4 separate regions of the Homo sapiens genome follow, and regions 2, 3 and 4 are each linked to region 1. Evidence: promoter capture Hi-C in 16 types of primary human blood cells and fetal thymus (Javierre and others, 2016). All regions are on one chromosome and are shown on one strand. Each heading gives the region's core, a stretch centred on a gene start or on the middle of the fragment in contact. The rest is flanking DNA. Distances are from core to core; before and after follow the strand shown. Region 1 holds the start of RPS15 (ribosomal protein S15). Region 2 holds the start of CNN2 (calponin 2). Region 3 overlaps ATP8B3 (ATPase phospholipid transporting 8B3). Region 4 holds the start of ONECUT3 (one cut homeobox 3).

Region 1 (3,277 bases), core at 1-2,500:
AGGCGGGAGGGTCGCTTGAGCCCAGGAGTTCAAGACCAACCTGGACGACACAGAGAAACGCTGTTTCCACAAATAATCAAAAATCAAGGTCGGGCGCGGTGTTCACGCCTGTAATCCCAGCACTTTGGGAGGCCGAGGCAGGTGGATCACCTGAGGTCAGGAGTTTGAGACCAGCCTGGGCAACACTGAAACTCGTCTCTACTAAAAATACAAAAATTAGCCGGACGTGGTGGGGGGGCCCTCTAATCCCAGCTACTCGAGAGGCTGAGGCAAGAGAATCGCTTGAACCCGGGAGTGGGAGGCTGCAGTGAGCTGGGACGGAGCCATTGCACTCCAGCCTGGGCGACAGGATGAGACTCCGCCTCAAAATAATCAAAAATTAAAAAATAAAAGCGCAAGCCAGATGCCCACCACCACCCTGCCTGGAAAGGACCCAGCGACCTCCACCGCCCTTAAAATCTAAGGAGTCTAACGCAGCCCCTTATTCTAAGTCACGTGGGCTACAGACAGGGGCTACACCTTCCAACTAAGCCGCGGAAAAGTGAACAACGGGGGGCAGGTTGCAAATAAGCAAAAACCTCAACGTCTCTGGACAGTTTTCTGGGCGCAAGACCACACTCAGTTCCAAACCCGCGCGGAGACCGTGCCCGCCCACCGCCGCAGAGGCGCTTGGACCCCCGCCCCGCCGCCCTCACCCGGACAAGCCCCACCGCTGGCCCAGCCCCTGCCCGCGACCCCCGCGGCCGCCCTTACTAGGACATGTCCAGCAGCTGGTCGAGGTCCACGCCGCGGTAGGTGAACTTGCGGAAGGTCCGCTTCTTCTTCTGCTCTACTTCTGCCTGTGCGGGCGCGGATCGGGCGTCAGCGGGATCCCGACACCCATCTCCCGGGGCCACCGGGCCCGAGGACACCGCGGAAGACGCGCGGCGCCGCCGGGGACAGAAGCCCGACAGGGACACACCGCTTCGACCCGTCCCCGGGGATCACTCGCGGCTCCGGGTTACGAGGACCCGGACATGAAGGCCCGGACAGGCCTTCCCAGCCCCGCGTCGTCCCGACACCCACCAAGTCCGCCCCTCGCCCCAACATCCAGCCGCCTGCAGGGTCGGGAGCAAGCCGCCGTAGCCGCGGGGACGAACTGCGGCCCCCGCGAGACGGTCAGAGGTTGGATGGAGCCGGATAGGCCCGGCAGAGACGCGCCAAATCGCAACACTCACCATCTTGCCGGATCCTCAGAAGAGATCGCTTTGGTCCGCGCCTGCGCAGTTATCGCGAGACTGCCGGCATGTCCCGCCCCCTCGGCCGTGCGCGCACACGCGCTTCCGCTTTCCCGGCGGCGAACACGCGCCCTCTGCCGTCTGGAGGGCAAAACACAGGCTGCAGGGATTAGAGCAGCCGCCGCCTGAGGTCTGCAGAGCCGCTTCCTCCACGGAGTGGGACTTTGGACAAGTCGCCGCCCCTGTCTGAGCCTCGGGTTCGTGCTCCGTCATCTACACGATGGCACCCACATCAACAAGTATTTATGGAGCGCCTACCGTTTGCTCGTAGGTGCGGTTTGGCGGTTCAGGTCCCACTGTGGGAGGAACACGAGAATTCATTACAGATACTGGAGCAGGGACAGGGCCTCGCTGAAAAGAACCATTCCGGCTTTAACAGATAAAATTTTGTATATAAAGTTAGTAAGGACAACACAGTGAGACTGCCTCTCTACAAAAAAATACAAAAATTTGTGTACACACGGACATAAAAGAATAAAAAGTACAAAAAATTCCCAGCTACTCGGGAGGCTGAGCCTTCAGCCCAGGAGGTCAAGGCTGCAGTGAGCCGTGATCGCGCCAACGGCACTCCAGCCTGGGCGACAGAGCAAGACCCTGCCTCAAAAATAAAGTTAGGAATATCACTGGGTTTGTTAAGATATGTAAATGTAATGTGAATAATGATAGCTCAAAGAGAAGGAGTAACTAGAACTATGTAGGAGTGACTTTTTTTTTTTTTTGAGACAGAGTTTCACTCTTGTTGCCCTGGCTGGAGTGCAGTGGTGTGATCTCGGCTCACTGCAACCTCTGCCTCCTGGGTTCAAGCGATTCTCCTGCCTCAGCCTCCCAAGTAGCTGGGATTACAGGCACCTGTTACCGTGCCCGGCTAATTTTGTATTTTTAGTAAAGACACGGTTTCTCCATGTTGGCCAGGCCATGTTGGTCTCGAACTCCTGACCTCAGGTGATCCACCCGCTTTGGCCTCCCAAAGTGCTGGGATTACAGGCGTGAGCCACCGCGCCTGGCCTAGGAGTGATGTTTCTGTATCTTACTGGAATTAAGTATAAAGTTGAAGGTGACTATTAACTATGGATGTGGCACCTGGCTGGGCGTGGTGGCTTATGCTTGTAATTCCAGCACTTTGGGAGGCCGAGGCGGGCGGATCACCTGAGGTCAAGAGTTCAAGACCAAGCTGACCAACCCTAACTCTACTAAAAATACAAAAAATTAGCCAGGCGTGGTGGTGGGTGCCTGTAATCCCAGCTCCTTGGGAGGCTGAGGCAGGAGAACCGCTTGAACCCGGGAGGCGGAGGTTGCAGTGAGCTGAGATCGCACCACTGCACTCCAGCCTGGGCGACAGAGACTCCTTCTCAAAAAAAAAAAAAAAAAAAAAAAAGAAAAAGAAAAAAAAAAAGCACAAAACCTCTGGGAACCCGAGCTTAGCTGTGGCACTGTCCAGGGAGCTGAGCTCTCCCCAGCCGTCCCCACAGTCCCAAGGGAAGCCAATTACACTGTACTCAGGGAGGGCTGAGTCTCCGTCCCGAGGAGCACAGGACCTATGTGTCGGGCCCGTCCATGTTACCCATTTTCCTGCAGCAGAGTGTCCTGGCTGGAAAGCTGATTTTGTGAGTGCTGCTCTTTGGCTGGGGGAGCTAATGTAACGGGAGGGGCTGACACTCAACACCATGATGACCTGTGGTGTGGATAGACAGCCGCCCCCGCCTGGCCCTCCTGGGAGCTGGGGCAGCAGCTCCTGAGGACATGGGAGAAGGCTCTGACGGCAGGGAATGGAGCTGGCTTCCTGGGCTGAGGCGTTGAGGGGTACTGTCTCAGTGAGGAAACTGCACTGCACAGGGATGTTGGGGGTACCCCTTCTCTTGGTTCTCTCCAAACTAAGTCAAACCTTCCCTGTCCCCAAAATATGAACTGGGGCGGGGGGGGGTGGTTCTGGCTGTCGCCTGAACAGTCTCACGCCTGGCACGCTGTAGGCTTCCAGTTTGGGACTTCATGGTCCTTTTTTT
Region 2 (3,277 bases), core at 273-2,772, 410 kb after region 1:
CTCTGGGTCCCTGTGGACACCGGTGCCCTTAGCCGGCTGTATGCAGGGTGCGGCAGGGTGCCCACCCCACTGCACGGGGGGCTCTATGAATGCAGGGTGCAGATGGCCCCTTGAAGGAGGAGTCGTGAGCCCCGGGCTGGGGACCCTGGCTCAGGCCTTGACCACCCCAAGCCTCAGCCTCCCTTTTTGGCCAAGAGCTGGTCTGAAGGCTTGCAGGGGCTCACAGCGGGGAAGCAGGAATTCTCCCTCCAGTCTGCCGGCCCTGGAGTGCCGCCGGGCAGGTGGCTGTTGGGGCTGGCAGGGCCGGTGCCCTCAGAGCGTGCAGAGGCAGTTTCCCCTGCAGAAGTCAGCTGTAAGGACACCTTCCCAGGTGCCCAGTGGGCGTCGGGGGAGGGGGTGGGCGGGGACGACACCCCCCTCCAGCTGGAAGGTCCTGGAGGGTCAGGTCCCGGTCCTGTCCGTGGGTCTCGCATCACAACCCCCGCCCCCCACTTTCCCTGGGAATCCTGTCCAGGACCCTGCTGTGTGACCCTGCAGAAGTGTCTGGTCCTCTCTGAGCTAGAACCACAAGTGCTCTCTTAAAAAGTGTCTCCCCTAGCCCTGGCTTGTTTTTAATTATAGAGATGGGGTTTCGCCATGTTGCCCAGACTGGTCTCGAACTCGCTGGGCTCAAGCCATCCACCCAGCTCCGCCCCCCAAAGTGCTGGGATTACGGGCGTGAGCCCCCGCGCCCTGCCGGGCCCCAGCTCTTCTTTCGAGGCTGCAAAACCCCACATATCTCAGGGCCACCTTCAGAGAACCTCTTTGTTATCCGTTTAAATTAGTCAGATGGGAGACAAAGACCGTGCAAAGCGGCTACCGCCCCTCCCCCCAAGACACCCCCAAGGTGTCCCAGAGGCCAGGAAATTCCTGTTTGTGGGGGGGTAACACTTCTCAAAAACCACTCGGCCATGCCCCTTCCCCTCCCAAAGCTAAGAGGCCCCAAAAGCAGAAGTGTGGCCAGGAGATGACGGGGTTGCTGGGGTCCCCCCCAGACCCCCAGAGCGTTGTCGGACCTTGAACGGACCTTCTCGAAGGTTGAGTGGGCGCCAGGGGCTTCACACGTGGGGGTCCTGGGGCCATGGCGAGGGGACGAAGTCAGACCCAACTACCCCTAGATGTTGGGGGGGGGAATGGGTCACTCGTCCCCCAGATCTCAGACCTGGGTGCTCCCCAAGATTCGCGGGAGCCTCAGGGGGTGCCCGCAGACATCCCCCCACCAGGCGTCAGGGAGAACAAGGGCCCGTCCGCCCCGGGTCTCCAAGCTCCCTGCCCGGGAGGTGCCGGGGGCGCCTGGGGGCTCCTGCACCGGTCGGAGCGTGCGACGGCCGCGCTGTCGGGGGGACAAGGGGCGCCCCTCACTCACCCGGTTCTTGACCTCGGCCGACAGCCCGTACGAGGGGCCCTTGTTGAACTGCGTGGAGCTCATGGCTGGCGGGCGGGCGGCGGGACGGGGCCGCACAGGACGGGACGGGACGGGACCGCCGGGCTGGCGCGGGGTTGGGACGCGCCGGGCTCCGCGCGCCACGCCCCCGCCGCTGATTGGCCCGGAGCGCAAATGTCCTTATAAGGCCTGGAGGCGCCGAATTCCTGCGGCCGCGGACTTCCTGAGCCCCCTCGGTCGCCCCCGGACCCCCGCCTGGGCACAGCACCCCCGTCACCAGAGGCCTGGAGGGGCCCCTCGCCCCCTTTGATGCCACGGGAAACTGAGGCAGGGAGGGGCCGAGGCCGCCGGGACGTGGCACTCCTGCGGGCTCTCTGCTCAGAGCTCGTGGGCGGCTCTCACTCTTTCTCCATCTCAGACTTCTCTTCTGCCAGAAAGGGGAGGGGAGAAGGCTACCTTTGGGGCAGGAATGAGGGCCCCTCTCTGCCACTTAGAGGCGTCTAACCCCTTCCCAGGGAACTCTACTAGCTGGGAGGTGGACCAGGGAACCAGGGCAGGTTCCTCAGAGAAGGGGCCATTGGAGCTGGGGCTTTGTTGGATGAGTAGGAGTTTGTCAGTCCAAAAGAGAATAGGATTCTTACTGGGTGCGGTAGCTTGCACCTGGAGTTCTAGCTACTTGGGAGGCTGAGGCCGAAGGGGGAGGATCCGTTGAGCCCAAGAGGTCGAAGCTGCAGTGAGTTATCATCACAACATGACGCTCCAGCCTGGGCAGCAGAGCAAGAGCCTCTCTCTAAAAATAAATAAATAAATAAAAATAAAAATCCGAGTGGCTCACGCCTGCAATCCCAGCACTTTGGAAGGCCGAGGCGGGCGGATCACTTGAGGTCAGGAGTTCCAGACCAGCTTGGCTAACATGGCGAAACTCCGTCTCTACTAAAAATACAAAAATTAGCCGGGCATGGGGGCACATGCCTGTAATTCCAGCTACTGAGGAGGCTGAGGTGGGAGGATCACTTGAAGCCAGGAGGCGGAGGTTGTAGTAAGTCGAGATCGCGCCACTGCACTCCAGCCTGGGCGACAGAGCAAGACTCCGTCTTAAAAAAAAAAACAAAAAAAAAAAACACAAAAAAACCCTAATAATAATAAATTATTAAAAAGTCTCCGGGACAGTCTCCTGCCAGGCAGTGCTGGCTCTCAGGAGACCTTAGCTCTGGCCCAGCCCATGCCCAGGAAGACAGAGCTGGCACAGACCAACCCCCAACCCGGATTCCCTGTATGAGCCAGCACAGGCGGAACCCCCCCACCCCGCCCACCCTGTTTCCCTATATGAGCAAGTACAGGACAGAATGAGAGGCTTGGGGCTGGAGGAACTGGAGGGAGAGTTGGGGCTCTGTCGGAGGAATCAAGGAAAGCTGCATGTAAGAGGAGGCAAGGGAGATGGGGTTTTGAAGCATCAATAGGAGTTTGACACATTTTATTTTATTTTATTTTATTTTATTTTATTTTATTTTATTTTATTTTATTTTTAGTAGAGATGGGGTTTCACCATGTTGGCCAGGCTGGTCTCGAACCCCTGACCTCAGGTGATCCACCCGCCTCAGCCTCCCAAAGTACTGTGATTACAGGCTTGAACCACTGCACCTGGCCGACCCATGTCATTTTAGACCAGTGCTGACCATTTCTGTTATTCTGAGATGAAGGAAATTTTCAATGTGGCACTATCTACTACTGTAGCCACTGGCCATGGGGCTACTGAGCACTGGAAGTGTGGCTGGTGCCATCAGGGAAGCAAATACTTCATGTTCTTTTTATTTTATTTTATTATTATTTTTTGAGACGGAGTCTCGCTCTGTC
Region 3 (3,277 bases), core at 369-2,868, 360 kb before region 1:
GGCGGGGGTCCCCGGCCACCATCAATAAAGGTGTAGCCCAGGCGATACCCATCTCCTCCCTGCACTGTGGAGATGGAGACGGGCTCCACCACGTGACCCCAAAATGGCCCCCCTCCCTACCAGACCAGCTGTTGTACCAGGCGGCCTCCCCCGACGAGGGGGCGCTGGTCACCGCAGCCCGGAACTTCGGCTACGTGTTCCTGTCCCGCACCCAGGACACCGTCACGATCATGGAGCTGGGGGAGGAACGGGTCTACCAGGTCCTGGCCATAATGGACTTCAACAGCACGCGCAAACGGATGTCGGTGCTGGGTGAGCCCCGCCACCCAAGCCCTGGGCCCCCCAAGGTGGGGCGGGCAGACGGGGAGCCTCTGTGGGCAGCAGGGCCTGTTCCCCCACAGTTCGAAAGCCAGAGGGCGCCATCTGCCTGTACACCAAGGGCGCCGACACGGTCATCTTCGAACGCTTGCACAGGAGGGGGGCAATGGAATTTGCCACAGAGGAGGCCTTGGCTGTGAGTCCCTTCAGGAAGGCTGGCTTATGTGTGTGTGTGTGTGTGTGTGTGTGTGTGTGTGTGTGTGTGTGTGTGTGTGTGTGTGTGTGTAGGGACAGGAGGAGGAGGAGGCAGGGGAGGAGACTGTACGGAGAAATGGAAGGCTGCAGGTACCTGGGATGGCTATGTACAGTGAGGTATGTTGTGCACTGTACAAAACACCCTCCCCCGGCAACACACAAAACACACACACACCGGCTGGGAGGCAGCTGAACTCCCAAGTGTAGCCCCCAGAGAGAGAGCGTCTTTTTCTTTTTCTTGTCTTGTCTTTCTTTTCTTTTCTTTGAGACAGAGTCTTGCTCTGTCGCCCAGGCTGGAGTGCAGTGGCACAGTCTTGGCTCGCTGCAACCTCCGCCTCCCGGGTTCAAGTGATTCTCCTGCCTCAGCCTCCCGAGGAGCTGGAATTACAGGCACACGCCAGTGCACCCAGCTAATTTTAATATTTTTAGTAGAGATGGGTTTTCGCCATGTGGGCCAGGCTGGTCTTGAACTCCTGACCTCAGGTGATCTGCCCCCTTGGCCTCCCAAAGTGCTGGGATTACAGACATGAGCCATCGCGCCCAGCCTGCCTTTTCTTTTTTGAGAGGGAGTCTTGCACTGTTGCCCAGGCTGGAGTGCAATGGTGCAATCTTGAGTCACTGCAACCTCTGCCTCCCAGGCTTAAGCTATCCTCCTGCCTCAGCCTCCTGAGTAGCTGAGACTACAGGCGCCCGCCACCACGCCCGGCCAATTTTGTATTTTTAGTAGAGATGGGGTTTCACCATGTTGCCAGGCTGGTCTCCAACTCGTGACCTCAGGTGATCCACCCGCCTCGCCCTCTCAAAGTGCTGGGATTACAGGCGTAGGCCACCGCGCCCGGCCAAGGGTGTATTTTTCTCATTTGCACAAGACGACCGTGCGGTTGAGCTGGCCCAGCTGCCAGGACACACTCAGCTCCGTCTGCTCCAAAGCTTCCCACTCTGTGGGGGAAGCCCGAACTCCTCGGCCCAGGATTTGAGGCTTTTTCTGTCCCCTGCTGACCTCTCCAGCCTGGTCTCTCTTTGGCCTCACCAAGGGACTCCCTAGGACCCAGTTTCTGGCTTGTGACTTCCCCACTCTCAGGTGCTGCCTTGGCACCTTTGCACATGCTGTTTCCTGTGCTGGGAGGGTCTTCCCTGCACCTTTGTCATTCAGAAGCTTTCGGTGTCCTCATGACTCAGCCACAAGCTCCCCACACATGGGGCCTTTCCTGCCCCACCCCCTGCCAACATGGGGCTGTCATCACCCCAGGCTGCCTCCCCCTGGTCCAGCCCTGACCCTACAGGGCCAGAGGATTCTGCGTCCAGCCTGGGGGCTCCTCACAGGTTCTGCTGGGGCCCCAGCAGCATGGAGCACAGGGCAGCGGGGTGTGTGTGGGAAGATGTCCTGTGTCCCCTGCTCTGCCAGGATGTGGGGGCACTCTGAACTGGAAGTGCGGTCACAATAATGACCTAGAGCCCAGGAGCTCAGCAGGTCAGCTTAGCTCAGCCACCCCAGGGAATGGATGGGTAAATTGAGGCCGGAAGAAGGGTCAAGGCCTGTCGGAGGCTGCCAATGTCCGTGAAGCTCCTCTGCTGTGTCAAGCCCAAGCTCTTGGACCCGTGCCCCATCAACAACAAAAGGGAAATCAGACATGGTGGCGCGTGCCTGTGGTCCCAGCACTTTGGGAGCCTGAGGCAGGAGGATCGCTTGAGTGCAGGAGGTGGAGGCTACAGCAAGCTGTGATCGCACCACTGCACTCCAGCCTGGGCGACAGGGCGAGACCCCTGTCTCTTAATAAACAGGCTGGCGCGATGGCTCACGCCTGTAATCCCAGTGCTTTGGGAGGCGGGCAGATCATTTGAGGTCAGGAGTTCGAGGCCAGCCTGACCAACCTGGTGAAACCCTGTCTCTACTAAAACTACAAAATCAGCCAGATGTGGTGGTGCAGGCCTGTAGTCTCAGCTACTCGGGAGGCTGAGGCAGGAGAATCGCTTGAACCCGGGAGGCAGAGCTTGCAGTGAGCCAAGATCGCGCCACTACACTCCAGCCTGGGCAACAGAGTGAGACTCCATCTCAAAAAATAAATAAATAAAAATAAATAAATAAACAAATTTGAGACCTAAGGCCACCCCTTGGAGCACAAAGCTGGGGGCAGGGTCGGGGGGTAAGAAGCCGTAAGGGCACCTTCCTTGGGGACCCCCCGACCACCCTTGGGGTGCCTGCTCTCTGGGCCTGCCCAGTTTCCTCCCAGCCCCTAGAGGCCCCAACCCTGGGTCTGGCCCTTGAGAAATGAGGGGCCCAAGGAAGGGGCTCAGAGAGCCAAAGTTGAGGGGTCAGAGGGAGGGGCCTGGGACTGGGGGAGCCCCAGCTGGGGAAGGCACCGGGTGGGTGGACTGCATAGAAGGTCTTGAGTGATAGTCAGAATTCGCCATGCAGGCCAGGTGTGGTGGCTTCTGCCTGTAATCTCAGCGTTTTGAGGCTCAGGTGTGCAGCTTGCTTGAGCTCTGGAGTTCGAGACCAGCCCAGGCAACATGGTGAAACCACCTCTATTTAAAAAATATATATATATACAAAGAAATTAGCCGGGTGTGATGGCATGTGCCTATGATCCCAGCTATTTGGAAGGTAGAGACAGGAGAATCACTTGAGCCCAGGAGTTCGAGGCTGCAGTGAGCTATGATTGGGCCACTGCACTCCAGCCTGGGTGACAAAGTGAGACCCTAT
Region 4 (3,277 bases), core at 580-3,079, 320 kb before region 1:
GGAGCTCTGTGGCCCGGGGCTGGGGGCTCAACAGCCCCTCTCCACCCACTCTGGAGGAGGGGAGTGGCACCTTAGCCGACAACAGCAGCTCGTTCGGGGACACAGCTCCCCCCAACAGGCGCGCGCTCACACACACACACGCACACACACAATGAGCTTCCCTGAGGGCTGCTTGGGGAGAGGCTCGGAGCCTCCCAGCAGTCTAACAAGGACTAGAGAACCCCTACGCGCTCCCGAAAGGGGCAGAAGCGGCGACCGGGGGGCGGGGAGGCGGCACAATCCCTTTCTCCCTTTTGGCAACGGTACAAACGGGCAGCGGCGCGGATCGCGGTCTAGCTTCCTGATAGGGGGTCCCGGGCTGCCGGGGCGCACGGGCGGGGCTTGGGGCGCTGGCCCCGGGCATCGGCCGCCGCCCCGCTAGGTGCTCGGGAGTCCAGAGCCGGCGCCCCCAGGGTCTGGCCCTGCGCGCCACGCTCCTACCTGCCAAGCGCAGCGCCGACATGCGCTGGAACTCTGGCTCCTGCAGCCACTTCCACATCCTGCGGAAGGTCTCGCGGCCGGATTTGAGCTTGCTCCACGGCTTGGGGTTGCGCAGCAGGTCGGAGAGCGTGCCCTGAGAGCGACACAGGATCCGCTGCGCGAAGATTGCCTGCGGGATGCTGTAGCGCTTCAGCTCCGCCGTGATGCGCTGCGCCACCTCCTTGGTGTTGATCTCCTCGGCCGCTGCGCCCGCGCTGGGGCCGCCGCCGCTCCCGCCGGGGCCGCCGCCTCCCCCGTGCGGCCCGTGCGCCCCGGCCGCCGCCAGCCCGCCCAGCGGCGCCAGCAGCCCCGCGGCGCTCCCGCTGCCCGCTCCGCCGCTGCCTGTGCCGCCGCCGCCTCCGGGCAGCCCGCGGGCCAGTGCGTCCTCCGCGCGTCCCAGCAGCGCGGCGTGCGGCTCGAAGGCGGCGGGCGGCAGCAGCTTGTCCCCAGCCAGGTGGCCTGGCGGGCCGTAGGCGGCCAGCGGCGGGGGTGGTGGCGGCGGCGGGGGCTGCGGGGCGCCGTGCAGCGCGGGCGGCAGCGCGTTGGGCAGCGGCGACAGCGGCGACCCCATGGCGGGCAGCTCCTTGCCGTAGGGTCCGTAGAGGTGGCCCACGGAGGCGAGCGCCGCCCGCTCGTCGCGCATGAGGGTGAAGCTGCCGCTCACGCTGGCCGCCAGACGCTGCGGCGGGGGTGGCGGGGGCGGCGCGGCCGCCGGGTGCGGGTGCGCGTGGGGATGGCCGCCGTGCGCCCCGGCCACGGCCGCGGCCGCCGCGTGCTGGTGGAACTTGTCGGCCACGGCCGCGAGCGGCGGCAGGTGCTGCAGGGGCGTGAGCGTCGTGTAGGTGCCGCCCAGGCCCGGCGCCTCGCAGGCCATGCCCATTGCCGGGTGCAGCGGGCCCGCCAGTTCCCCGCGGAAGTCCGCGCCGCCGCCCGCGCTGCCCGCGCCGCCCGCGCCCCCGGCGCCCCCACCGCCGCCGCCGCCGCCGCCGTCCAGCAGGCTCGCCATGCCGGCCACCAGGCCCGGGCGCCCGGGCGCCACCAGGCCGCGGTGCTGCGCCGCCGCCGAGCGCGCGTGGCCCGGGCTCAGCAGCTCGCCCGCCTGCGCGTGGGCCACGCTGTGCAGGCCCCCCAGGCTCTCCAGGCTCAGCTCCATGCTCGGCTGCCCTCCCGCCGCGCGCGCTCCTCAGCGCCGGCCCCTAGTGCTCAAGGCCGCTGCATGACTCCCGCCCGCTCCCCGGTGGCTGCGCGCGAGGCTGCCAGGCTGCGCGGCGCACGGCCCGGCCCGGCTGCGAGCGCGGCCACCAGGATGTGGCAGGGGAGCGGCCGCCGGCGCCCGGGCCCGGGTCTGACGTCAGCGCCCCCGCCCACCCGCTCCTGCCACCGCTGCCTCCCGCAGCCTCGCTCTCCGCCCGCCCCGGCCCCACTCGAGCACCAAGCAGGCCGAAGTCGGCCAGACTTGGGGCTTCGGCGTCCCTGGCCACTGCGCCCGCCCGCGCCCGCTGGGGCAGGCCGTACCCGGGGGACAGCGGGCGGGGGTCCGAGGACAGACTCTGCCCAGGTGGGGCTGGGGGCCTCGACCCAGAGTCTCCGATTTCGCGTCTCTGTGTGATTCTCTCCAGAGTCCCAGATGTGGCTTTCTGCCTGGCACCCCCAAGTCCATCTCCAGGGAGTTTCTGGGAGTGTGGCTGGACGGTCGCCTGTAATGTACGTGTCCCCCCCCCCCCCCGTTCCCTACAGACCCCCAGGAGCTAGATCCCCACTGCAAGCTCAGCTTCCCCCGACTCCCACTCACACCTACGGAGTCACAGCCCCCTTCCCACAACCTCTTTGTGGAGGAAGTGGGGGAAAAGGGAGGTCCTAAGGCTAGGTCAGGGCCTCCGTGCGCCCCAGGGGTCAGCCTCTGCCCATGTGTGGGCACCTGGGCCTCCGTTTCCCCAACTGTACAATGGGCTGCCCGGCCTCGGGGTTGCCAAAGGCCCCTTCTAATTGCAGGGCCTTTTTACAGTGCGGCCGCTGGAGGCACTGGAGCCTGGGGGTGACCACTAAGAGCCCCTGTCACCCTCCAGCCCACGGAGGCTGAGGCTGGATCCCCTGTCTTCTGAGACGTCGCTGGTGCAAACTCCTCTTTGTCCCTGGGGCTTCTCTTCAATGTGGGGGGAGGCAGGGGTCTCCTTTTTCTCAGCACCTGGAGACAGGTGAGCCCCAGGGGCCCCTGGGAACTGGGATAGATGGGGGAAGGGCTCCTATAATCAGAGAGACCCCCAGGGGACTAGATCCCGCCAGTGGGGTAAGGTCAGGGCTGCGGATCTGGAGGGGCCAGACCAGAATCTAGAGGATGCTCTGTCTTGTAGGCCAGAGGCTACGGTGCAGAGTCCAAAACCAGCCTCAGCCCCTTCCTGCTTCCCCGTTGCCTCTGCCCCCCCCACCCCCGGGGTAACGCTTGTGCACTTTCTAGAAGAGGAAGGGGATGGGTCAGGCAGTCGGTTCGCGGGAGCCCCCAGTTACCCCCATCTCAGAGGGTTGCATCAGGGCTCAAAGCTGAAGGAAGAGGGGAGGACACAGTCAGGCTGTCACTTCCCCTTTGGTGCAAACCTTCTGGGCAAACCCCGGCCCCAGCTTTGCACCTGCATCCAGATTTCCTGGCCCCTGTAGACGTGGCTACACATTGGAGATGCGATTTTCTGAACCAAGACTAGGTTGGCTCTGGAATAGGGCCCTTTCTGTGCCTCAGTTTCCCCTTCTCTGGTGTGGGAGGGGG

The links. The method cuts DNA at HindIII sites, captures the fragments that hold promoters and counts their contacts. A CHiCAGO score of 5 or more calls a contact.
Region 2: the fragment with the promoter of CNN2 here is called in contact with the fragment with the promoter of RPS15 in region 1 in 5 of 17 cell types (erythroblasts, total B cells, activated CD4 T cells and 2 more); the score reaches 7.2 in erythroblasts.
Region 3: a fragment that was not itself captured here is called in contact with the fragment with the promoter of RPS15 in region 1 in 1 of 17 cell types (naive B cells); the score reaches 8.0 in naive B cells.
Region 4: a contact is called between the fragment with the promoter of ONECUT3 here and the fragment with the promoter of RPS15 in region 1, in 1 of 17 cell types (naive B cells). The highest score is 5.9, in naive B cells.

What each region holds. Positions count from the first base shown.
Region 1 is chr19:1,436,369-1,439,645 of GRCh38, reverse strand. RPS15 (ribosomal protein S15) reads right to left here and starts at 1,250. Exons shown (of 4, transcript NM_001018.5): 1 at 1,218-1,250; 2 at 754-839. The coding sequence starts at 1,220. RefSeq lists enhancers at 1,007-1,226, 635-1,505. The HindIII fragment of the contact is 15,360 bases long and covers 1-3,277 here.
Region 2 is chr19:1,024,853-1,028,129 of GRCh38, reverse strand. CNN2 (calponin 2) reads right to left here and starts at 1,522. Exons shown (of 7, transcript NM_004368.4): 1 at 1,406-1,522. The coding sequence starts at 1,468. RefSeq lists a silencer at 1,235-1,874 and an enhancer at 1,865-2,596. The HindIII fragment of the contact is 13,555 bases long and covers 1-3,277 here.
Region 3 is chr19:1,793,112-1,796,388 of GRCh38, reverse strand. It overlaps ATP8B3 (ATPase phospholipid transporting 8B3), which reads left to right. Exons shown (of 29, transcript NM_138813.4): 17 at 124-312; 18 at 402-514. Among named protein-coding and RNA genes, the nearest start is that of ATP8B3, 18 kb to the left of the region's middle. RefSeq lists a silencer at 265-559 and enhancers at 265-559, 1-779. The HindIII fragment of the contact is 226 bases long and covers 1,506-1,731 here.
Region 4 is chr19:1,752,058-1,755,334 of GRCh38, reverse strand. ONECUT3 (one cut homeobox 3) reads right to left here and starts at 1,829. Exons shown (of 2, transcript NM_001080488.2): 1 at 481-1,829. The coding sequence starts at 1,672. The HindIII fragment of the contact is 18,116 bases long and covers 1-3,277 here.